4 separate regions of the Homo sapiens genome follow, and all the other regions are linked to region 2. The links are contacts of gene promoters, found by promoter capture Hi-C in blood cells and fetal thymus (Javierre and others, 2016). All regions are on one chromosome and are shown on one strand. Each heading gives the region's core, a stretch centred on a gene start or on the middle of the fragment in contact. The rest is flanking DNA. Distances are from core to core; before and after follow the strand shown. Region 1 holds the start of SLC30A1 (solute carrier family 30 member 1). Region 2 holds the start of RCOR3 (REST corepressor 3). Region 3 overlaps NEK2 (NIMA related kinase 2). Region 4 has its middle 24 kb from the start of RD3.

The links. Contacts are between HindIII fragments. The CHiCAGO score rates a contact against its expected background, and 5 or more counts as called.
Region 1: the fragment with the promoter of SLC30A1 here is called in contact with the fragment with the promoter of RCOR3 in region 2 in 2 of 17 cell types (fetal thymus and monocytes); the score reaches 6.4 in fetal thymus.
Region 3: a fragment that was not itself captured here is called in contact with the fragment with the promoter of RCOR3 in region 2 in 1 of 17 cell types (fetal thymus); the score reaches 6.5 in fetal thymus.
Region 4: a contact is called between a fragment that was not itself captured here and the fragment with the promoter of RCOR3 in region 2, in 1 of 17 cell types (fetal thymus). The highest score is 5.2, in fetal thymus.

What each region holds. Positions count from the first base shown.
Region 1 is chr1:211,576,416-211,582,065 of GRCh38, reverse strand. SLC30A1 (solute carrier family 30 member 1) reads left to right here and starts at 2,905. Exons shown (of 2, transcript NM_021194.3): 1 at 2,905-4,075. The coding sequence starts at 3,454. RefSeq lists silencers at 2,316-2,875, 3,116-3,425, 3,926-4,275 and enhancers at 2,732-3,231, 3,232-3,733, 3,706-3,815. The HindIII fragment of the contact is 24,351 bases long and covers 1-5,650 here.
Region 2 is chr1:211,258,026-211,263,954 of GRCh38, reverse strand. RCOR3 (REST corepressor 3) reads right to left here and starts at 4,589. Exons shown (of 12, transcript NM_001136223.3): 1 at 4,229-4,589; 2 at 3,791-3,847. The coding sequence starts at 4,394. LOC105372902 (a long non-coding RNA gene) reads left to right here and starts at 4,763. Exons shown (of 2, transcript XR_922552.3): 1 at 4,763-5,219; 2 at 5,380-5,929. RefSeq lists silencers at 4,011-4,310, 4,381-5,170 and enhancers at 3,873-4,372, 4,875-5,376, 5,651-5,770. The HindIII fragment of the contact is 7,419 bases long and covers 1-5,929 here.
Region 3 is chr1:211,667,065-211,673,319 of GRCh38, reverse strand. It overlaps NEK2 (NIMA related kinase 2), which reads left to right. Exons shown (of 8, transcript NM_002497.4): 4 at 2,036-2,118; 5 at 2,913-3,039; 6 at 3,988-4,207; 7 at 6,089-6,214. Among named protein-coding and RNA genes, the nearest start is that of NEK2, 5.4 kb to the left of the region's middle. The HindIII fragment of the contact is 3,844 bases long and covers 476-4,319 here.
Region 4 is chr1:211,513,248-211,518,671 of GRCh38, reverse strand. No RefSeq gene overlaps it. Among named protein-coding and RNA genes, the nearest start is that of RD3, 24 kb to the right of the region's middle. RefSeq lists silencers at 2,985-3,344, 4,357-4,446. The HindIII fragment of the contact is 1,961 bases long and covers 682-2,642 here.

The DNA of each region.
Region 1 (5,650 bases), core at 1,656-4,155, 320 kb before region 2:
TGAACATTAGAAGTGATTTACTGTCAGCCAAAGTCAAATATAATGTGGTTTTCACAGGGTTTTGTTATTTTATCTTTCCAAGCAAGGTACAGCTTTATACACTCATGATTTTTGATTACCAAAATTCAGAAGTACGTTTGTGTTTAGCAGTTTTTACGAGAATCTTACAAGATCATTTTAAACTTTCATTAAAAGCAAGGAGAGGTCCAGAGGGCTTTGAGATTGCAGTTTGTCTGAAGCCCTTGACTTTCATTCAAATTGGCAGTCTCTTTTCCAAAAAGAGCATTATTCTCTCATCTTTAAAGTATGCTGGGTTTAGTCAGTTTGGATACTAAGCAAGTTATCAGGAGATTTCTCAAACATTAAGAAGAGAAAGCCAAGCCGTCTTACTCAACCCAGGGCCACAGCCTCCAGGGGTGTTGGTGAATAACAGTATAGTGTCCCTTCATTTTAATCTATTCCTGCCTGTGTTGACACTCTACTAGGACAACCAGATGAAAAGGGAAAAAGCTCGAGTTGAGGTACCAAAGTCTTTTGCCTACACAATGTTAGAGGGAAACAAAGTCTGACTGAAGTGTTCTGCTGTGTGGTAAATATTACTCTCTCCAGAGAACATGATTATAACTTCTCTAGAACCTGGAAAATGTACTCCCTGCCCCCTCTGCCCCGCCCCCAACCACCCACCAGGAGGGAATAAAGCACATTGTCTGGGAAATGGCTGAAATGCAGGCACAAAGTAGGTTTTCAGAAGCGGCTATGAGTTGAACCTGTTTTTATATGGGTCTAAAAATCTCCCAATTTAGTCTGTTTAGTTATTGAAGGATTGCTATTGTGTTTGCAAGCATCACTGACTTTTACATCTTCTTATTGGTTCTTCTTTGGGTATCAAATCTTCGCATTTGGAGGAATGTATTTTTTAAATAAAGCGAGGCACAGCAGCCCTTAGTAGAAAGCAAAATGGTCTTCAAACTGCCTCTAGGCCATTTCCATGAGGATATCTTGACCCATAAGTGGCTTCCGAATTTCTGTATATGAGGGGCTAGTTGATAGGATGTTTGAAGCTGTGTTTACAGATGATCAGAAAACTGTCACTCATCCATATCAAAGGAGAGGAAGTTATGGAAGTCCTAAACCCATTAATCCACCCTTTAGCACTGCCCAAACCCAGACTTCACTTCAAATTAAGCACATTAAAAATGGAGTTCATATTTTCTCCTAAAAATCAGCTTCTTGGCCTCCCTTCCCAACTTCCTCACCTGTTTAAGGCAGTATTTTCCTTGTCAGGTTAGAAACATTATAACTATCTTTGTTCTCCTACCTAGCTTCCTCCTTCCCAATACCCAATTAATCATCAAATTCTATCATTTTTTCCTTAATAATGTCTTGAAAATTTTCCTCCATTCTTTATATTCCAGCAAAACAGAAACAGAAGGTGAGGATCCAGCTCTCCAGTCTGGATGGGGAGACTAGAAACACACTACATACAAGTGAAAAAAATTTCATAGGAATTACAAGAATACCAAAACAATGCAAAATAACAGCTCCAAACAAGCCTTGTATACACATCTCCAGGCAATAGCTGGCACTGCATTTGTCCAGTAGTAATCTAGGGCAGTGGGTGGGGAGGTCCTTCTGCTGCGCAGGGGCTGTGGTGAGGCCTTTCAGGTCCAGCTTAAGCCACTCTGATTCCAGCCACCACCCCACCTTAGATGGGCAAGCTGTTCCTTTCCAGATCAACTCATCTCCACCCACAACACAGTGCTTATGTATTCAGTCTAAAATAGCACAATTTATCAAGAGTATTCCATCGTAATTTTAAAATGTCGTGTTTATATTTTACCTCCACCTGGACAGAAACTCGTTCCTTTGTATTCTTACTGCCCCTCCACCTCCCCATAGCAACCAGCACAAGATTCCACCGTGTGTAGTCTATAAATAAATGTTAAATCATAGAGCCTTAGAATTTTGGAGTCAGACGGGGATCTTCAGAGTTGCATTTGTCCAGTCCTTTATAGATGGGGAAACAGGTCTAGAGAGATTAGGTGACTTGCTCAAAGCCACACAGCTGGCTATTGACAAGGCAAGGAGCAGAGCCCAGGTTTCTCCTGCCTGAAGTCTGTACCCTGAACTGTCCTTAGATAATCAGTGACAGACACCTGAGTTCACACAAGGTCTCCAGGGGTTGATGGTGATAGGAGAAACTGGCTTTCCCAAAACATGTACAAAGATTCGGTCCACGCCCCTAGCAGACCTTCGGGAGGACTAACTCCTCAGCTCGGCGTCCAGCAGAGTCCCAAGTTACAGTCGCACTTGTTTATGCGTCTGTCGGCCTCCTCCGACAGGACCGAGTACTCGAGGGCCCCGCGCTCAGGGGCTCCCCTCCGGCCCCTCCCCCGCCGCCGAGCTGTCACACAGCCGCCGCGCGGCCCGCCCCCACGTGGACTGGGCTCGGAGGATCAAAGTCTGTTTGCAGACTTTGCAGCCCGGCCCCCGCAGGTGTGCTGGGAGTTGCGATGGTCCGCAGGCCAGGACTCCGCCACACCCGAGGGGACCCGGCCAGCCCCTCCCCCTCCCGCTGCACGCGGCCCGCGCCCCCAATTCGCCCGCCGCTGCACCCGGCCACGGCCCCCCGGCCCACGCCCGGCTCCGGGAGGAAAAGGCCCCGCCCCTATCTGTTGGAGCCGCGACCCCGCCCCCTTCCCGCCCCTCCGAGGCTCCATCCAATAGTGAGCGTGGCTGGGCGGGACGCCGAGGCTGTCGTGAGGGGGTCCTGACCAATGGGGAAGCGTGCCGGGCCTGGTGGGCGGGGCGGCAAGGCCTTGTCACGCTCGGGTCCGTGTGAAAACGGGGGTTCCGAGTGCAAAGCAAAGTTTTTTTGTAAACCGTCTGCAAAGGCGGGGGGGCGAAGAAGGCGCCCGAGACCGGGCCGAGTGCAGCTGCCGTGGCCGCCGCCTCTCTAGCTCCTCAGCCATCCGCTCCTCAGTCCAGCCGCCGCAGAGGAGACCAGCAAGCAGAGCCCTCAGATGCTCGGAGCTTTCTCGGCGCGAAGCTGCCCGTCGCCCTCTCCTGCCGCCCTCGCCCGCCGCCCTCCTGCTCCTGCTCCGGCTGCGGCTCTTGGTACCCCGGCTCCGGGAGCCCAGCTCCCCGCCACCGCCGCCGCCTGGGTGTGGGGGCTGCTGAGGCTGAGCCGGGCCTCGGCGCCGGCTCTGAGGACGGACGCCTGAGGAGCTGCGCGGCGCGGCGCCGCCGGCTGGCGGAGAACGCCCACAGGCGCGGGGCTCGGCGGCTTGACCCGGGCTTGTCCCCGTGCGGCCGCGGGGGCCCCTCAGCGGTTTCCCGAACGGCCCGACTCGGGCGCTCCTCCGTGTCGCGGTCGCCGACCCTCCGCGTCCCGCCAACGCCGCCGCTGCACCAGTCTCCGGGCCGGGCTCGGCGGGCCCCGCAGCCGCAGCCATGGGGTGTTGGGGTCGGAACCGGGGCCGGCTGCTGTGCATGCTGGCGCTGACCTTCATGTTCATGGTGCTGGAGGTGGTGGTGAGCCGGGTGACCTCGTCGCTGGCGATGCTCTCCGACTCCTTCCACATGCTGTCGGACGTGCTGGCGCTGGTGGTGGCGCTGGTGGCCGAGCGCTTCGCCCGGCGGACCCACGCCACCCAGAAGAACACGTTCGGCTGGATCCGAGCCGAGGTAATGGGGGCTCTGGTGAACGCCATCTTCCTGACTGGCCTCTGTTTCGCCATCCTGCTGGAGGCCATCGAGCGCTTCATCGAGCCGCACGAGATGCAGCAGCCGCTGGTGGTCCTTGGGGTCGGCGTGGCCGGGCTGCTGGTCAACGTGCTGGGGCTCTGCCTCTTCCACCATCACAGCGGCTTCAGCCAGGACTCCGGCCACGGCCACTCGCACGGGGGTCACGGCCACGGCCACGGCCTCCCCAAGGGGCCTCGCGTTAAGAGCACCCGCCCCGGGAGCAGCGACATCAACGTGGCCCCGGGCGAGCAGGGTCCCGACCAGGAGGAGACCAACACCCTGGTGGCCAATACCAGCAACTCCAACGGGCTGAAATTGGACCCCGCAGGTGAGCCGGGAAAGTCGCTGCCGCAGGTGGTTGGGTTTGGGGTGCCCAGAGCCTCGCCTGGCCTTCGGCGGGGTGGCCCGCACGCCCCCTGCTGCCCGAGCGGGCCTGCGCCGCGCCGCCCCTGCCTGCTCCCTCCCCGTCCTGCACACGCCCCGCTGCTGCTCCAGGAAATCAGAACCCCCTCAGTCGGGTGCAAGGAGCCGGCGACGCGTCTGGCATATTTGTAGGTGGGGGCTGTGGGTCAGACCCTAAGAAAAAGGGTCAGGAGGTGATCATCATCCCGCTGCAGTCCACACCCGCACTTGGCTGTCTTTACAGGCTGCAGCAACTTTGCTGGAGACTTGTCTGGTTATGGTTATAACAGCGTCAGAAATGCTTCCCAATTCAATTCCTTGGCCCTCTTGGGAAACGGAGAGAATCCCCAATTCGTCCCCAGTAGTTGGGTGCTGGAAACCTTGCTCTGCCAAAGTAGTTCTTATGCCCATTGAACTCCGTTTCATAATATGCATTCAGAGCGTGTAAACCCTGGTTAAAGGTTTCTTTTATGAACAGCAGTGTATGCTTCAGCTAATTGATCCCTAATCCTGGAAATCATAGATTTAGGACCTGTCTGGGCATGTTTAACATTTTCCCAGGACTTTTCATAATCGTACTGAACTAAAAGTGATGGTAATTTATTCATCTTATATTTTTAGTGGATGCTTTTTATATTTAACATTAAGTGCTCTTGAAGGAAATTTGAAAATAAATGTTGAAAGAAAGGAGATGGAAATGACTCAACCAGTGTCCTACTACCCAAGCTCAATGGTGCTTAACAATTTGGTCTTATTTCCTTCACTTACGTTTATTTACCTTGTATCATTATAAATTATGCTACATAATTTTCCTTTTCGAGTGCAGAATATGAAGTTAGTGAAATTCAAGTTGTACATTGGAAAGGTTTAATAAGTAATTGGTTTTCCTCTCACTCCACTCGGCAAGGTGTTATTCCAAAGAAAATTAAGTTTCTCTGGTGTGTAATTTCAAAAGATCAATACTTTTTATCTTTTTGAATACTTTTGATCAATACTTTTTGAAAAGATCAATACTTTTGATTTAAAAGTTAGTAGGGCAGGTAGTCATTTAGTTTCAATTTTTCTAATAATCTCTGTGATTATTGATTTTTATTGTTGATTTGTCAGTTTTTAAACCCCCCTACCAAGAAACTTTTATATTCATAATAAAAGTTTAAAAGTTAAAATTGGTTTTATTCTCAAGCAATTGGCCTCAGTGACAAAGAGTGACTAGAGAGTGCCCGAGTGTCAAATCAGGTATTTTGTATTAGTAGACTTATTCCTAGCTGCATTTAATTTTGGTGTTAGCATTCAATTTTATGTTTTCCTTTGTATATACCATAAAGTATAGCAGAATGGTTGCAGGACTCCACCCCCATAGAAAATATACACTATTTTGGAGAGGAGGAGGCAGGAGAGTGGTTAGGAGGGTGAAGAAGCAGTATCACAATGACTTAATTTAGCCCTGGCTATTATGTCCTGGCTCATTCCCAGAATGTCAATTTATATTAAATTGCTCTGA
Region 2 (5,929 bases), core at 3,340-5,839:
TCCCAGCTACTTGGGAGGCTGAGGCAGAATTGCTTGAACCCAGGAGGTGGAGGTTGCAGTGAGCCAAGATCGCACCACTGCACTCCAGCCTGGGGGACAGAGCAAGACTCTGCCTAAAAAAAACAAAAAAAAAACAAAACAAAAAAAACTTTTCATCTATTATTTTTCCCAAGGTAATGTTTATATTCTCACCTAATTATACTGATGTGAAAAACTTCACACAACAGCACAACACTTATAAATAAGAATAAAATAGATCAGCAGTATAATGTTGAATGACAGAGGCCCAGTATTTCCCTGTAAAAAATGCCCAATAACTAATAATCTACATTTGATTGATAAGATTAGCTTTTACCAGATAAGAAAAGCCCTCCTAAGTTTAAATGGTAGCTAGTTTTAATTGTGTCCTTAGGTTTAGCATGCTTCTGTAGAAGACTATTAAGCAGAAAATGAGTAAGTGAACTTACAGAAAGTGATGTTTATCCTTATTCTAATAATAAAATTCAATTAGTCTGAGTAAATAAATTGAAAATATGACTTCAATGACTTTAAAAAAAGTAACATTTCAGTGATTTTTTTCCTCCTCAAATATTCTATTTAGGTTTCAAAATAGGCAAAATATTATCGTCAATTAAGTTGGTTAACAATAGCTAAGACTTGGAACCAACCCAAATGTCCAACAATGATAGACTGGATTAAGAAAATGTGGCACATATACACCATGGAATACTATGCAGCCATAAAAAATGATGAGTTCATGTCCTTTGTAGGGACGTGGATGAAATTGGAAATCATCATTCTCAGTAAACTATCGCAAGGACAAAAAACCAAACACCGCATGTTCTCACTCATAGATGGGAACTGAACAATGAGAACACACGGACACAGGAAGGGGAACATCACACTCTGGGGACTGTTGTGGGGTGGGGGCAGGGGGGAGGGATAACATTAGGAGATATACCTAATGCTAAATGACGAGTTAATGGGTGCAGCACACCAGCATGGCACATGTATACATATGTAACTAACCTGCACATTGTGCACATATACCCTAAAACTTAAAGTATAATAATAAAAAAAAAAAGTTGTTTAAAAAATAAAGATAAAAATAGCTTCTTCAAAAAAAAAAAAACCAGTGGCCATGCAAAATCACATTAATATTATTCTGTTTAAGTGATTATTCTCAAAATTTTGAAATTTGTTCCAGTGTTTATCCTGAAACAAAAAAGATGCTTTCCAATGATCAGATCAATGCTTTCCAATGTAATGCTATGGCATGTACAAGTTTGTTCCAGCATTAAGTCTGGCTCTTAAACACAAGACCCCTAATCGAACTGTATATAGTTGTCTATGAAATAAATATTGACTCAGAAATCTACCCACTGGGGCAAAAATATAGGTATGTTTATTAACTTAAAAAATAATTGTAGCTGCTGAGGTATAATTTGGAAATAACTATCACTACCAAAAAAAACCACACAGACTCCCAATGAAAGCTCCAAATCAGAAAGGTGTGAATATATCCAGAATAATTCTTCATAATTACAAATTTTAATGTTTATAGAATAATTGCCATATGCCCATCATTTAATCCTGGCAAGAATTCCATTAGTTTTTATAGGCTGGGCGCGATGGCTCATACCTGTAATCCCAACACTTTGGGAGGTCGAGGCAGCAGATCACGAGGTCAGGAGTTCGAGAGCAGCCTGGCCAACACAGTGAAACCCCATCTCTACTAAAAATACAAAAATTAGCCAGGCATGGTGGCGTGTGCCTGTAGTCCCAGCTACTCAGGAGGCTGAGGCAGGACAATCGCTTGAACCCGGGAGGCAGAGGTTGCAGTGAGCCGAGATTACGCCACTGCACTCCAGCCTGGGCGACAGAGTAAGACTTCACCTCAAAAAAAAAAAAAAAAAAAAAAGTTTTTATAGCTAGGAATACTGAGGCTCAGGGAAAGCCTGTGGCTTGCTCAGACCACAAAAAGAAGAGTTGGGAGTTAGGAATTGAATTCAGTTTTTTTTTTTTTTTTTTGAGATGGAGTCTCACTCTGTTGCCCAGGCTGGAGTGCAATGGCGTGATCTCGGCTCACTGCAACCTCCGCCTCCCGGGTTCAAGCAATGATTCTCCTGCCTCAGCCTCCCGAGTAGCTGGGTTTACAGGTGCGTGCCACCACGATCGGCTAATTTTTTGTATTTTTAGTAGAGACGGGGTTTCACCGTGTTAGCCAGGATGGTCTTGATCTCCCGACCTCGTGATCCACCCGCCTCAGCCTCCCAAAGTGCTGGGATTACAGGCGTGAGCCACCGCGCCTGGCGTGAATTCAGTCTCTTAAAGCCAAAATGTGCTCTTTCCAAATGTCAAGTAAACCCAAAGGGAGCAGAGTGGTGTGAAAGTGCCATTCACCTACTAGCAACATCAATAAAGAAAATTAGTTTCATAAAACATTTAAAATTATTTGAAGCCCATCAGTATACACACTGATAGTCTTTGAATAAAATGTATTCCCAGCCAGTCATTTAGAAGGCAACCCAAATCTAGTGAACACTCTTGCATCACTGTTTTCACCTATTAAAAATGAGACTGTCCCGACTCATTACTTTTCATCCTCCTCACTTGGGACAGGAGGAAGAGCTGCTATCTGAAATCCAAATGGTTGGTAAATATCATTTTGCATTGTCTTAATGGGGAGAGGAGGAACAAAAAAACACGCCTCTGTATCCTAATAATTAAACATTGTTTCTCTCCAAGAAAATACAAGTAAGCTCTTTAATATCTAACATAGAAATCCAATGTCTGACACAAACGCAATATTATGGGCACTGGGCAAAAATTGACAAACTGTAAGGAGGAAAAAAAAAGGTGGGTCCCTTTCAAAGTCTGTCCAAAGCCTTAACTGAGAAGGGTCTCAGGCAGGGTGGGGAGAAGGAAACGCGCTCCACTCCGAGAGGCTCCAGCAAGGGCGCCTCCATATGCGGAACTCTCGCCCAATCCCTGCACAGGCTGAAATCTCGTGACCGCCGGGGAGCCTGTTTGGAGAAAAGTAGACAGGGAGCCCGCAAGCTGGGTTGGCAGAGGACGCTGGAACCTGGCTGGTCGGGGAGAAAATGTCTCCTTGGCAGCTGCAGCCACTGTCCTGTGGTCTAACTTCCCAGAGCTGGCTGGCGAGCGAGGTGTGCCTGCCGCTGGCGTCTCCCCACCCCCTTCCCCCACCCCTTTCTCTCCGCGGCTCCTGCACTCCGCAGAGCTGCCGCGACCAAAGCTACACCACCTAGCCAAAAAGAAAGAAAAGAGACAATCCCGGCTGCGCACAGGTCGGCAGGGCTCGCCCTTGGCTTCCCCGGCCGGTGACAGCCGCCCTGGCCTCTGCCACCCGCCCGACAGAGCGCGGCCCTCGGCGCCGGGGCGAGCGAGGTGGCAATTGACATTTGCACGGTTCGTCCATACAGTCCGCACGCCTGCTCCTCCAGCCCGCGGCCTCGGACCCTGGACTCCGCCAAGGGCCGTCTCCCTCTGCTCACCCCGACCCTGCCCCAGGCTCAAGGGCTAGGAAGGCGATGCCCCCAGCGGGCAAGTGGCCTCCGAAGGGAACCATGTTAACCTTGCAGTGCACACATCTGCCCACACGCCCAGTGTCACAGCCCGGCCAAGCCTGACAGCCTCCCCGCCACGGATGCCTGCCCAGCCCAACCCCGCATCCCCTCCCGGCCCCATGCCCGGACTCCTAGCCCGTCCACCCCAAACCAAGCCCAGGAAAGGGGATATGAGATTTTGCTTAAGCAAATATATCTACCTGGATCAAATTCAGGGATCCGAGCTTGGTATTCGGCTCCGACTCTCATCCCAACATCTGCAAAGCAATGCCAAAAAATATATATAAAAAATAAAAAAGAAGAAAAGAAAGAAAAAGGAAGAGACACTTAAAAAATAAAAATCGCTAGATGGAGGAAAGAAGCGGCGGGTGGATGGGAAGATATCAACTCGGGGCACTCCGGGAGATGGCAGCGGATTGGGGGCGGGGAGCGGGGGGGGGCAAAGGCGGAGGATTGGTCGAGGGCGGAGGGACGGGGGGTCGCGGGGGTGCTGCTGCACTGCACCGGGAGTTCGAGGCTACCGCAGCGCCCAGGCTCTGAGGGGAGGGAGGGCGGGAGAGCGGCGAGGGGAGGGGGCTGGGGGAGGGGAAGAGGGAGGGGGGCAGGCGGGCTGGCGGGGAGGAGTTCGAGGCTACCACCGTGCTCGTCGTCGCTGCTGCAGCCGCTCTCGGGCTCTGAGTAGTGCAGCCCGCCGTTGGTGGACGAGGCGCCGCTGCCGCCGCCGCCTGCCGGGCTCTTGGCGCTGCCGTTGGCCGATCGGTTCTTCCCCAGTAACTCGGGCCCTTTCTCCATCATGCCGGGCATGGTAGAACAGGGGAGGGGGAAAGGTGAGGGGAAGAGGCAGGCGTCAGGGTGAAGGCGGAGATGGCTTAGAGCGCGGGCGGGAGGGAAAGGAGGAGGAGGAGGAGACGGCGGCGGCGGCGGAGGAGGAGGAGGCTGTTAATATGGAGCCGCCATAACCGCCCCGCTCCGGCAGTAGCGCAGTCGCCTCACAACAACCCGCCCCGGCCCCGCCTCTCTCCCCTCCTCCCTCCGCCGCCGCCCGCCCCGCGCAGTCCCGGGCGCCCCTCGGCCGCACCGCGCTCTACGCCGCCGCCGGTATCACTCCGCTCCGCAGGGAGGTTCCGGCCGCCTGGGGGGAGGGGAAGGGGGGAGGGGCGGGGAAACCCCGCTCGCAGGCAGCCGGGCCACCCCAACCAAGCGCTAATAAAATCGCCACCGAGGCGTGGCCGCCGCTCGGGCTTTCTTCCTAGGGGGCGCTCCGGAGCGCGGGCGGGAGATGCACACGAGGGAGCGGGACTCTTTGCCCTCTCTGGGCGGAAGGAACGCGGTCACCCTGAGAAAGGACCGGCGCGACCCGACTGGGCGACCGGGGGGAGCGGCCCCCCCCCTCTGCGGACCGGGCTGCAGGCACGGGCCTGAGCGCGGCGTTCCTCAGATGTCTGGACCCGCAGGCCGCTCAGTTTCCCGGTGTCCGCTGGCAGCCTCGAGCTAGGGGCGCGCTCTGGCCCGCGGTGCAGTCGCGCAGTATAGCAGGGCGGCCTTGGGGCTCTGAGGCCCAACCGGCGAAAGAAGTAGACTCGGCCCTAACCATCTCGACGCTACAATTTTTGTTTCTGGATCTCTGAAGTAGGGCCCAGTTCCCGAGAGAGAGTCTGGGGATGACGGGATGAGTTTCCGGGGCTGAGCGATGCAACTGTTTTTTGCTGAAGCCCCTCTCCCCGATCCTAACCCTACTGTCTTATTCTTACCATCTTTCTTTCCTTTTTTTTCTTCTCTGTTTTAATAGCTGGGGAGTGAGTGCTGTGGAGTGAGGGGGAAATAAGATAAACATGAGACCTGGCCCAGTAGACGCGTTTTCAGTTCTTGCTGACCTGCGGTCTCCGCTTGGAGCGCTGGGGGAGAGGGCGGAGTCCCCCGGCAGAGGTGAAGCGAGAGCTGCTTTCTGGCAGCGTTTCCAGCCTGGAAGGAGTTGTGCTCTGTAATGCTTTTCTGAATTGCATTCGGCGAAAGGAGTAGGAAACTGCGTTTATTCCTTCACCAGATTTGAGGGCATCTGCTGCGTGCCAGGCTGCCTGGCATTGGGGGCTGTTTATGATTTTCTTTTCCTCTTTTTCTGATTTCTTCCCCCCCACTGACGAATAAGTAGAAATAAGTGAGGATTTAACTGTGAGCCTCTAGTATGCAGATGTATGCTGAGCGGTATTGGGGTTCAGCAGATACTCTCCAAACACTTGAAAATACTGTCTTGTAATAATTCTATTATGGGTCAATCCAGAGTGGATCAAACCAGAAATGAACGTCTCTGGCCAGAGCAAACCTTACTGAGAGAAATAATA
Region 3 (6,255 bases), core at 1,148-3,647, 410 kb before region 2:
GCATCAGCCTCCTAAGTAGAGTAGCTGGGACTACAGGTGCATGTCACTATGCCTGGCTAATTTTTGTATGTTTAGTAGAGACAGGGTTTCATCATGTTGACCAGGCTGGTCTCGAACTCCTGACCTCAAGCGATCTGCTCACCTCAGTCTCCCAAAGTGTTGGGATTACAGGCGTGAGCCACCATGCCCAGCCAAAACATCTTTTAATGTTAAGCATTCTGAAGCAGGGAAATTGAGTTTTCTGTTTGTTTAGTAATATCTAGTAGCCAAGAATTGAAAATACTGTTATATTTTTCCACATGGACCACCAGACCAATAAAGTCTATATCAGTTTTTGTTTGCTGCATGAGTTATGTGCATTAATGTAAGTATGATGAAGACAGATTCCTAGTCTAAGGTTTGCGCCGTTTGTCATCTCTCACTGGGTTCAATTTTTTGAGCATTCATGCAAATTAAAGCATATTCAGTTCAAGCTTTTATGGAATGACTATGATGCATTAAACTCAAGGATTACAAAAATGAAATGGATTTTGTCCTTGCCCTCAAGAGTTGTTTCCCAATGTGTAGGTCCTAGTTATCTGCATCAGACTCACTTGGAGTGTTTGTTTAAAATGCAGAGTTCTGGGTCCCAAACCCAAACCCAAATCCATCGAGTGAATTTCGATCTCTGGGTGGGTTCTTGAACTCTGTTTTTTTTTTTTTTTAATATTTTACTTTTTATTTTAGACTTTGCATTTAAGAGGCTCTGTAAATGATTCTTGTGTATGCAGAATCAGAGCTCAGGAAGTTTGCTCACTTCAGATAGCATGTTTTTACAATGTTAACTTTTTGTACATTTTATTTTTTTGTTGCCTATCCCTGAAATATCTTGCTGAGTCCACTCACCAATTACCTCTATTGCTGGATATTTTGTTTCCAACATGTTTCACCATTCTTAGAAGTACTGCTCTGCATATCTTTGTATGAATTATTCTTTCTTCCTTTTTGGTTATTTCCTTGGAGTGTAGCTCATAAAATGAAATTGCTGGGGTAAATGTTTATGGCTGTTATTAGATATTGTCTGATGGCTTTTAAAAAGTTTAAGTCAATTGTGATAGCACTAATGTGTTAGTATATAACATCTGAACAGATAAAGATGAAGAAATATTTGTTAGTATTTTAGTAGTTCACCTTTCTAGGATTTTCCAAATATTTATAAATTATGTTAACAGATCTTACTATAGTATAAAACTTTGTAAATTAATGATTTTGGTTTTGACTAAAAATAGCCAGAACAGTACCATTTTCTCACTGTATCAAATTCCAAATAGAATGTTTTTAACATAAAGGACAATTATCCAGAAGTGGTTCTTGGGAAATTTGAAACCTATTCTTTTGTTCCTTTTCCCTCCTGCCCTTGTAATTAGAGTGGTTCAGCTTTCCTAAGGCACTGATTGTCAAAAAGTGGCATCAGACTCACCAGTTGGACTTTAAAACACTAACCAGCCACTAGAGATTGCTTCTATTCCCTCTGTTGAGAATAGGAGCTCTGGTAGGCTGTTGTTACTGTAGATGTGGAAGAAAGGCAAACAATAAAATAGGTAAGGATAATATTAGTTACTACTGTGATTTATGGAGTGGACTAAGACAAAATATAAATGGATAATTCAATTAGCTATTTATGTCTATATCCATTTAAATGTGGACTAGATACATATTTTGACTATTCTTAAATTTCCTCTAGTTCTTTTAAAATGGTGTTTCTTAATTTGCCTTGAGAGTAGAAGTCTCTCATATTCACCTCTGTATTGTCAGTGCCTAGTCTATACTAAGCACTTTCATTTGTGAATGGAAAATGAGTGAATGAATTATGTATGATGGAGTGTATTGGAACAAGATCATTGCCTTTTTTCCATTATAAATTTCAAGATAAAGTATAAGCTAAAAACTTTGAGGTTCTGTTTTTATCTCAGGAGTAATTTAATGTGTTTTTTAAGTTTCAAAACAAAATAAACTCTTAACACCTTCCACTTTCTTACCCTTTTTCCCTGTATAGGAACAAATGAATCGCATGTCCTACAATGAGAAATCAGATATCTGGTCATTGGGCTGCTTGCTGTATGAGTTATGTGCATTAATGTAAGTATGATGAAGACAGATTCCTAGTCTAAGGTTTGTACTGTTTGTCACATTTCACTGGGTTCAGTTTTTTGAGCCTCTGTGCTAACGAAAGTATATTCAAGTCTGAAAGAATTGTACCCTGGGTAAAATTAAGGTAGATAGATGAACAGGCTAAAAGAAACTATTCACAAATTAAAACTATAAGCCATGAGGCTGGGTCTTGACTGTTCAAGGGTCTTGGCTGGTTAGGTGCTTTCTTATTAGATTGACACTTAGCTCAAGGGAGAGCACATAGGTCAGGCAGGTAAGGTAAAGCTACTGTAAGGATGTGGAAGAAATGAAACAAGACTCGGGTAGAGGTCTGGGGATCTGTAGAGCAGGGAAGAGCTCCAATTCTTTTCCTTTGTTCTTCTTTTCATTTTCTTTCCCTTTGAAACTATTCTGTAGAGCAGTGATTCTCAACTAGGGATAAGGGAAGCAAATTTGCCTCTTATGGGGCATTTGATGATGTTTGGATAAATTTTTAGTTATCACAGCTGGGGAGTGCTTCTGGCATCTAGAGGGTAGAGGGCAGGGAGGCTACAAAATACCTATAATGCACAGGACAGCCCCCCACAACAAAGAATTATATGACCTCAAATGTCAATAGTGCCAAGGTTGGGAAACTTACTTATAAGAAGAAAATCCCAGAAGTAGAAACTTAAATACAAACTGGAGCTTAAGCTGTGCTTTTGATTTAGTTCCTATTGTATATTTTCATTTTTACAATTTGAAAATGTCTTCGTCGTCTTCTTCTTCTTTTTTAACCCTAGGCCTCCATTTACAGCTTTTAGCCAGAAAGAACTCGCTGGGAAAATCAGAGAAGGCAAATTCAGGCGAATTCCATACCGTTACTCTGATGAATTGAATGAAATTATTACGAGGATGTTAAACTTAAAGGTAAAGATGATAAGATGATATATTGTCTGTTTCTAGCTGTCAGTTAAGTGTCAGAGCATACATTCTCTCTTGTAGATCAATGGAGACTGAAGAAACGTTAAATATACTTTCTTAGCTAAATTTACTGTGTTAACACAAGTGAAAACATATGTAAATTTGGCAAATTGCACATCCTTGCTGGCCCACCTTCTGCGCTTTCTTTATTTCTCCTCCCACTCTGTCATGCTAACAGATGGTCGGTAGCAAGGAAAGATTGCAAAAAGAATTCAAATTCTCGTTCCCCTTGTCCTTGCCTACCTCACAGTGGCAGGTAGTGAGGGAAGGGGCCAGAAATAAGAGTTTATTACTCTGCCTCTAGCTCTAATTGAGAGATTAAAGACCAGAAGAAGGGGAGGGGTGATGGAGGGCGGACGGAGGACAGCTAAAAACAGAGGGAAAATCAATAAAGAGATTATGTGGAAAAACTCTGGCTATAGAATGGGGAAGGAGATGTTCTGGGGACCAGGCTGACATAAGAGAAGAAGGAAAATGCCGTAGGATCACAGAGAAGGATACAGATGAAGTGACAGGATTGAGAGTCAGTGAGAGAGTATCTTGCTAAATGTAGTTTAGAAATGCAAGGGCAGTACTTCCCCTAAAACAGACCCTAGCAATGCTACCAAGCCCCAGCACAAGATGTGCCAATCTTCAGGGATTGAACCTTCTTAGAAAGGTGAAAAGGGGAAAAGGGAAAAAAGGTAAGTTAACATCTGCATTACCTTGTGGACCCAGAACCTCATGAGTTAAAACCACCAGTGAACTTATTTTTCCAAGTTTTTAAGACCTAGCCATAAAGGAGTCCTTTCTTTTGTCTTGGAAACACATTTTTGTCCTTTTATTTTAACTGCTGTCTTAGGAGGACTATTCTGTTATGCAATCTGACTATAATACTGAGTATTTTTTCCCCAGGATTACCATCGACCTTCTGTTGAAGAAATTCTTGAGAACCCTTTAATAGCAGATTTGGTTGCAGACGAGCAAAGAAGAAATCTTGAGAGAAGAGGGCGACAATTAGGAGAGCCAGAAAAATCGCAGGATTCCAGCCCTGTATTGAGTGAGCTGAAACTGAAGGAAATTCAGTTACAGGAGCGAGAGCGAGCTCTCAAAGCAAGAGAAGAAAGATTGGAGCGTAAGTCTGAATGGGGGTCAAAGCAAAGGAGAACTACCAAGTGGGTTATTTTGATGTGTCTGAATATCTCTTTGAGCAGAATATTTTATACATACAGATCTTATTAGAAGCTTTTGAAAAATACTTGAGAAACCAAAATATGTATTTTAGACTTTTTAATAATCAGGCTTGCTGGCACCTTCATGTTGGACATCTTTCTCTGAGATCAGTTGCTAGTTATATATTATTGGGCCTTAACTGTGATGGCCCTAATACGATAGCCTTGTATTTTACTCTAGAGTTACTTTTTTCTTTTTCGTCTCTACTGTGAATACCCTAATGTTTTCCCACTGTAAAGGAAGGTCTTAAAATTGCTGCTTTCCATAATAAAAAACCATGACTTTTGTCTTTTGAAATGGCCACTCCAACAGAATTCCAGGTCTAAAACCCTACAGTATGTAGATGAGATATGTTCAGGCAATTCTTTTCTTTTTTTTTAACTTTTTATTTTTGAAAATGAGATGGGGTCTCACTATATTACCCAGGCTGGTCTTGAACTCCTGAGCTCAAGTGATCCTCCCATCTTACCTCCCAAAGTGCTGGGATTATAGGTGTGACCTACCACACCTGGTCTGTTCAGGCAGTTCAATAGAGAATCTAGATACAAGATATTTTAAGTCTATAAATAATACTCTGGTGGGTATTAACATTGACTTATGAGTATTAACTGATTAGATGCTAATTTAGTTTTGATATTGAAAGTGTGTCTACTCCACCAAGATGAGAGCTACTCGCAAGCATTTAGGGTTATGCAAGGTAGCTACAGAGTGAGGTTCTTCATTTTAACATCAGGAGACGAGAGATGGGGTCGTATTTGTGACCTGTCACCCTCATGACTCACCTGATTTTACTTCTGCAGCTTTATGCCCAATCCAGGCTTTAAATAATGAAATATTGTATAGTCCTGTGAGATATGCTTACTGTATAGGTACAACCTATACTTACTTGGAAACCTCTGTAAAAAATAAGAAAGCTTTTTCTTATAACTTTCCCCAGTGTTTCATAATTTCTTTTCTTTTTTTTTTTTGAGATGGAATTTCACTCTTGTTGCCCAGGCTGAAGTGCAGTGGCACCATCTTGGTTCATTGCAACCTCTACCTCCCGGGTTCAAGCAATTCTCCTGCCTCAGCCTCCTGAGTAGCTGGGATTACAGGCGCCTGCCACCATGCCTGGCTAATTTTTGATTTTTTAGTAGAGATGGGGTTTTGCCATGTTGACCTGGCTGGTCTTGAACTCCTGACATCAGGTGATCCACCTGCCTCGGCCTCCCAAAGTGTTGGGATTACAGGCGTGAGCCACTGTGACCAGCCATAATTTCATATAGCAACTGAAATCTGAATACTTTCTGAATTTGGGGCCATGAATAAATAGTAACATTTGTTATTAATACTAATCCTATGAACTACCACCTAACTGAATTGTGTTTTTTTTCTTTTGTTTGGGTGTGGTCATTCAACCAGAAGAAGGAGATTTTTGTACTGTGAGGCCAGATCATGCCCTGAAAATTAGCTGTTGCTTATCTTCAGTGAAGAGCAGAGATAGCTTTAGTTTTTTGTTTTCCCAAATGAGTTACTCCCACAAAAGATGACCAAAGGTTGAAGCTAACTTTGTATTTGTTTAAACAAGTCCTTTCAAGAAAATCTAAGATAACATACAGCCTACTAAAACACTCAATTAAAAACTAACATAATCAGGTTGACTGAGGCATAGTGAGAATCCTTTCCCCAAACATTGCTTATCAGTATCAGGCATGCTAGTAGTGATAAGATTGCCAAATGTAAATTGTTTTTTAGTCAAGGTCAGTTGTTAATTTTTTTTTCTTTGTCCATTCTCTTTTTAAAGAGAAAGAACAGGAGCTTTGTGTTCGTGAGAGACTAGCAGAGGACAAACTGGCTAGAGCAGAAAATCTGTTGAAGAACTACAGCTTGCTAAAGGAACGGAAGTTCCTGTCTCTGGCAAGTAATCCAGGTATGAGAATCAACTTGGTCAACAGAAGCTGGTGCTACAAA
Region 4 (5,424 bases), core at 413-2,912, 260 kb before region 2:
TGGGAATCTTACTGACTACAAGTGGAAGGTTAAGAATTGGAAAGCTTTTGCCAGAATAAGGGGAAGGGATAATAGGCAGGCAAAACAAAAGGTGAGTATCATACACTGAGCACTTGGCTCTGCACACAGTAGGTGCTCACCCTAACAGGGCTGACTGGCTGGCCTCTGGCTGGAACCATCTGGGGAGAGAGGAAGTGGTGGTTTCACATCAGCTGCAGAGCCTCCACCAGGTTCAATTTTACATCTAGAGAGAGGGATTTGGAGTCCACGCAGGTCCCAGAAGGTGACAAGGTGGTAGAGAGTGATACGTGCCTCGTTGCATGGAAAACTGCCCTTGGGCTCCAAACATGGTATGCCCAGAGGCTGAGCTTGGAAATGGGTGAACCTTGGCCCAGCCTGGCTAAGAGAGCCACTCGGGGGCACATGCGTACCCTTGCCCTGCTCTCTGCGGGCTGGCCTATGGCCAGCAGGTGCCCAGTGAGAAGATTGTACTCCAAGGGATCCAGCCTTTTACACAAGTTATAAGATGAGGAAGAAACATGGCTTGTGTCTTTGGGAAGTTCTCAGCCCAGTGGGAGAACTGTAACATGACAAGACTAACCCTGTATTTGGGGGCTTCCGCCTGATGTGTCAGCCCCAGAGGGACGGCATGGTAACCCACTCTGTACCAGATTTTAAGCTTTATTCCCAAACCTGCTTTGCTTCCCTTACCAGCTCTTTTACCTTTGTCTTCCATGTTCCCAGTTCATGTTGACCACCTGGGCTGGTTCACTACCACCACACCTGGGAGTGAGAGAAGCCCACCTTCTCCCACTGGCTCAGCCACTCAATTGCCTGGAAGGCATTGTCAGGCAAGGGTGGCCTGCATCTCTACCTCAGCAAAAGCCTCCAGGAAGCCAAAATTAAAAGCGAGGCCAGACCAGGCAACAGTGGCTCACGCCTGTAATCCCAACACTTTGGGAGGCCGAGGCCGGAGGATTACTTGAGCTCAGGAGTTTGAGACCAGCCTAGGCAACATAGTGATCTGGAGTCCATCCAGGTCCCAGAAGGTGATGAGGTGGTGGAGAGTGATACTTGGAACCCATCTCAGTAAAAATCGTAATAATTTTTAAAAGAGAGAAAGAAGAGTGAGGCTGGTTCCTGCTGTACCCTGGAAGTGGTTTTTTCCAGGCGCCTCTTTTTCCAAATTATCAGTTTGAGGCTGAGAGGGCAGGTAAGGGAGAAAGTGACAGTGAGCTAGGCATGGGGAAGTGGCAGCAGGTTGAAGCAGGATCCTGAGAAGACAGCACGGAGGGGCCCTGAGCTGGCTGGGCAGGTGTGGGGCTAGGAAGCCACACCCAGCTCAGTAATTCCCAGGGAGCTTCTGGGAGAACCTGGGCTCAACAGGGAGATCACAGGGCCTGCTGAGGCCATATGGGTGAGGCCTCGCCCTTCTTCCTGCTTCCTCCACCATGCAGTTCCTGCCTCTCCTCCCCCTTCACCTTGCATCCCTCCTCCTCTGCAGCAGCCCTCCTGCTCACACAGTTTAAGAAAGGCTGGTGCTAAGCCTGTGTGCACCACAGGTGGCGTCATGGGCAGGGTCTTTCATGATTTTTCTGCTGCCACTGAGAAGACGGATCATCATCTTTCAGGCAAGTTTGTAATAAACATTTAACGAATGAATGGGTTAGTGATGAACATTCGTTATCTAATTTGAACCCTTTACCAACCCTTTGAGGTAGTCCACACAGTTCCTATTAGTGCTGTTTACAGCTGGGGAAACTGAGACTCAGAGAAATTATGTGTCATCACGTAGGTATGCAGTGACCAGCTGGACTCAGAACCCATGACCCTAGTTCTTGCACTAATGTCCACTGCCTGTCTCTTTCACCCACCTGCACCCTCACAGCTACTCCTTGGGGTTCAGAGGGGGATGACTGGGGCGGGAATAGCAAGGACACAGGCATCATGGGGGCAGATTTGACCACACTGGCTCTGGGCTGTCAAGACAGCCAATCTGGGCTGCTGTCTCTGGCTGCTGTTATGGCTTCATTCCCGGGGCCACTCCACTTAATACAGGGACAGTACTTCAGGTCCGTCTGCCCAGTGCAGTCACATCAGGAGCACCACGGCAGCCGAAGTGAAACCTGGCCAGTCATAGGCAATAACCTTTGACCTGCTGGCAGGTGGGTGTTAGGTTAAATGTTAAGTGACCGGCCGGTCACGGTGGCTCATGCCTGTAATCCCAGCATTTTGGGAGGCTGAGGAGGGCGGATCACCTGAGGTCGGGAGTTCAAGACCAGCCTGACCAACATGGAGAAACCCCATCTATACAAAAAATACGAAATTAGCCAGGCGTGGTGGTGCATGCCTGTAATCCCAGCCACTGGGGAGGCTGAGGCAGGAGAATCGCTGGAACCCGGGAGGCGGAGGCTGCGGTGAGCCGAGATAGCGCCGTTGCACTCCAGCCTGGGCAACAAGAGCGAAACTCCGTCTTTAAAAAAAATTGTTAAGTGACCTCAACTATGTGGCCATGGGGAATTAGAGAGAGTAGAATAGAATCCCCTGTGGGTTGCAAGTGGGAGATGCTGGGATTTTTGAGCATCTTTACTGGTGATCCCTACGGCTGAATTAGGAGAGCTCTCCTGGCACCCGGGAAAGCTTTAACCTCTGGAGTGGCCTTCACAGGAGACAGCCTCAGGATGCTGGGAGAGCCCCTGACCCTCCACAACCTACTACCAATTCCTGCGCGCCGTTCCTTGGGCATGAGGTCCTGAACCTGGTGGAGGAAGGGTAGCAATGCCTTCCATTGTATTGGTTACATGCTTCTTACAGTCAATTAATTGGTTCGATCTTTTCCAGACAGTGCCGGGCTAGAGGCTGACCTTCCCCACTCCCGACCTTGGCTTCTTGAATAACCTCACAGGCCACGGGGCATGCGGGGTGCGCGTGCGTGGCTGGGCCGGCGTAGTCAGCCGGGCGGGAAGGTTTACGGCTTTGGGGAGGCGCCGCCTTGCCGCCCTGACACCGCCCCGCCAGGCCAGCCCGCCGCTCGGTGGCCCCGCCGGCTTCCCGCGGTCGGGACGGGCGCCCCCTGCTGATTGTGGGCGGCGGCGCACCGAGGAGCGGCCCCTGGGAAGCCCAAGACCTCGCCGCGGCTCGAACCCCGCGACCCTCGGCCCGGAGGGAGGTCCTGGCTGCGGGGAGCTGCCCAGACCGCGGTGACTCAGCTAGGTGGCACCGGGAGAGCTGAAGCGGGCGCCCCGCTGGGCCTGGCCACAGGACGGTTAATGATTAATGTTCCATACCGGGTGGAGACGTCGAAGGGGAGGGAGGCCCAGGGGCGCGTCTTGGCCCTGGCTGTGCCTGCAGGAAGCAGAGGCCCAGACGGGGAGAGACTCAGGCCTGGGCTGAGGCGGCTGGGGGCAGGGGAAGGAGCAAGCCGTGAACTCTCTCCTCTTCCCACCCCGCACGCCGCCCCCGTTCTCGATGCCCTTCTCCCCTGCCCCGGGAGCCTCCAGGCGCCGCGCTCCTCCTCCCTGCCTTACCAAATGCCCATCCGTGCCCGCCTCGGTGCCAGGCACTGCAGGCCGCTTTCATATAAATGACTGATTGCCTCTTGCCCATTTTACAGATAAACGCAGAAAGCTCAGGTGATGTGCCCATGGGCTCTCAGCTCACAGGCAGAGTGGGGATTCGAACCCAGCCCCGGACACAGACCAGGTGTCCTTCTACTACCCCACCCATTGCTGCCCAACTCCAGAGACACCTACACCCCAATCTACCAACTTAACCACCTGGGCAGAGGAAATAAGAGGCGGTACTGCCCCCGCCTACAGGGATCGCAGCTCCATTCTCTGCCCTCATAACTCATTACCCTAATTTTAGTCAATCAGAAAATCGTGTCAGGGCTGGACGTCAAGCTACCAGGGATAATGGTTCCTGTTGTAAAATGCTCCTTTGAGCTGAAAGCAATCGTGAAGTGAGGCGCCCGGTTCAAGGAGTCAGCCTCCCGACTTGAGAAGCCAACTGTGGTGGTGCCACGAGGCTGCGATTCACAGGCTCCGGTGGAAAGACCAGGGAAGAAACTTATTTACAAAAATGAGAATAAAAAATATTCTGGGCCGGGTGCGATGAGCCATGCTTATAATTCCAGCGCTCTGGGAGGCCAAGGCGAGAGGATCACTTGAGCCCAGGAGTTGGAGGCTACAGCGAGCAGAGCACCACTGTACTCCAGCCTGGACAACAGAGATATTGTCTCTAACAAAAAGGGAGGTGGGGGGAGGAAATAGTATTCTAACACGAAGCTGCAGGTTCTGCACAACAAGTTTAGGTTTTCCTGTTCTCTCTAGGGTAAATGAGGCATGCAGGCGCCTGCACCCTCCGGGCAAGGACAAGGCGTGTGAGAGTCTCTGGGTCTGCCCCAGCGACGCCGTCGGGCCTCTGGGCGGTGCAGCCTGGTCCGGCATCATCCTGGACGCGCGGGTAATCAGGGCTGAGGGAGCCCAAGGTACATTCTGTCCCTCACCACAAGATGTCGCCGCTGCTAATGGTTAGAGGGCTCTCAGCAAGACCAACTCCCAACCCCAGACTCTGAGTCAGAAACTCTGGGGTTGGGGCCCAGCAATTCGTGTTTTTCACAGGCCCTCCAGGGGATTCTGAAACATGCTCAAATTTGAGAACCACTGGTAAAAGTCATCCTGCAGGTCTCACTGCCTCTGACGTCTACCCCTTCTGCTAGGTGGTCAGGGCAACTCAATCTGTTACCCACCTGGAGTCCCACCCCAGTGCCCAACTGGGGCAGGACCTGGGATCTCAGAGCTTCAGTTTTCTCAATTGCAAAATGGGGATAGTAGTACCCACCAGACAGGGCTGTCACGAGGCTAAAATGAGTGTCTGAGAATGCATTTGCAAAGGGTAAAACCCTACATAGTAAGGATATGTTGTGACTGTTGCTTTTATTTGGAGTGACAAGCTGTAAAGCGAGTTGAAGGCAGCTGGTTCTGAAGGTTCCATCCTCTCTCTTGTCTTCTCTCCAATGCTCCTATTTCTCTCCCCACCTAGAATCACCTTTAAGCCACCCAGGGAGAGGCATGTTCAATGCACCAGCTTGCAGCACAGAAACAGCTTAACTTTCATCTAGTATTTGCCATGTTCTAGACCTTGAGTGGAAGGCTTTAAGTGTGTTATTTTATTTAATCCTTACACAGCCCTATGAGGTTGACACTACAAAGGATGCTGATAAGGCAACTGATAAAACACAAAGAGATTAGATAATTTGCCTAAAGTCATGTGGCCAGCAAGCAATAGGGCTGGATTTGAACTTGGGCAGCCTAGCGTACATTCATGCTCTCAATGGCTCTACAGTGCTGCCTCCCCTAAAGCTTGTTTCCCAAACCCTGCATGGTGAGAAGCAGCATGGAACTGTGGAAAGAGCACTGGGTT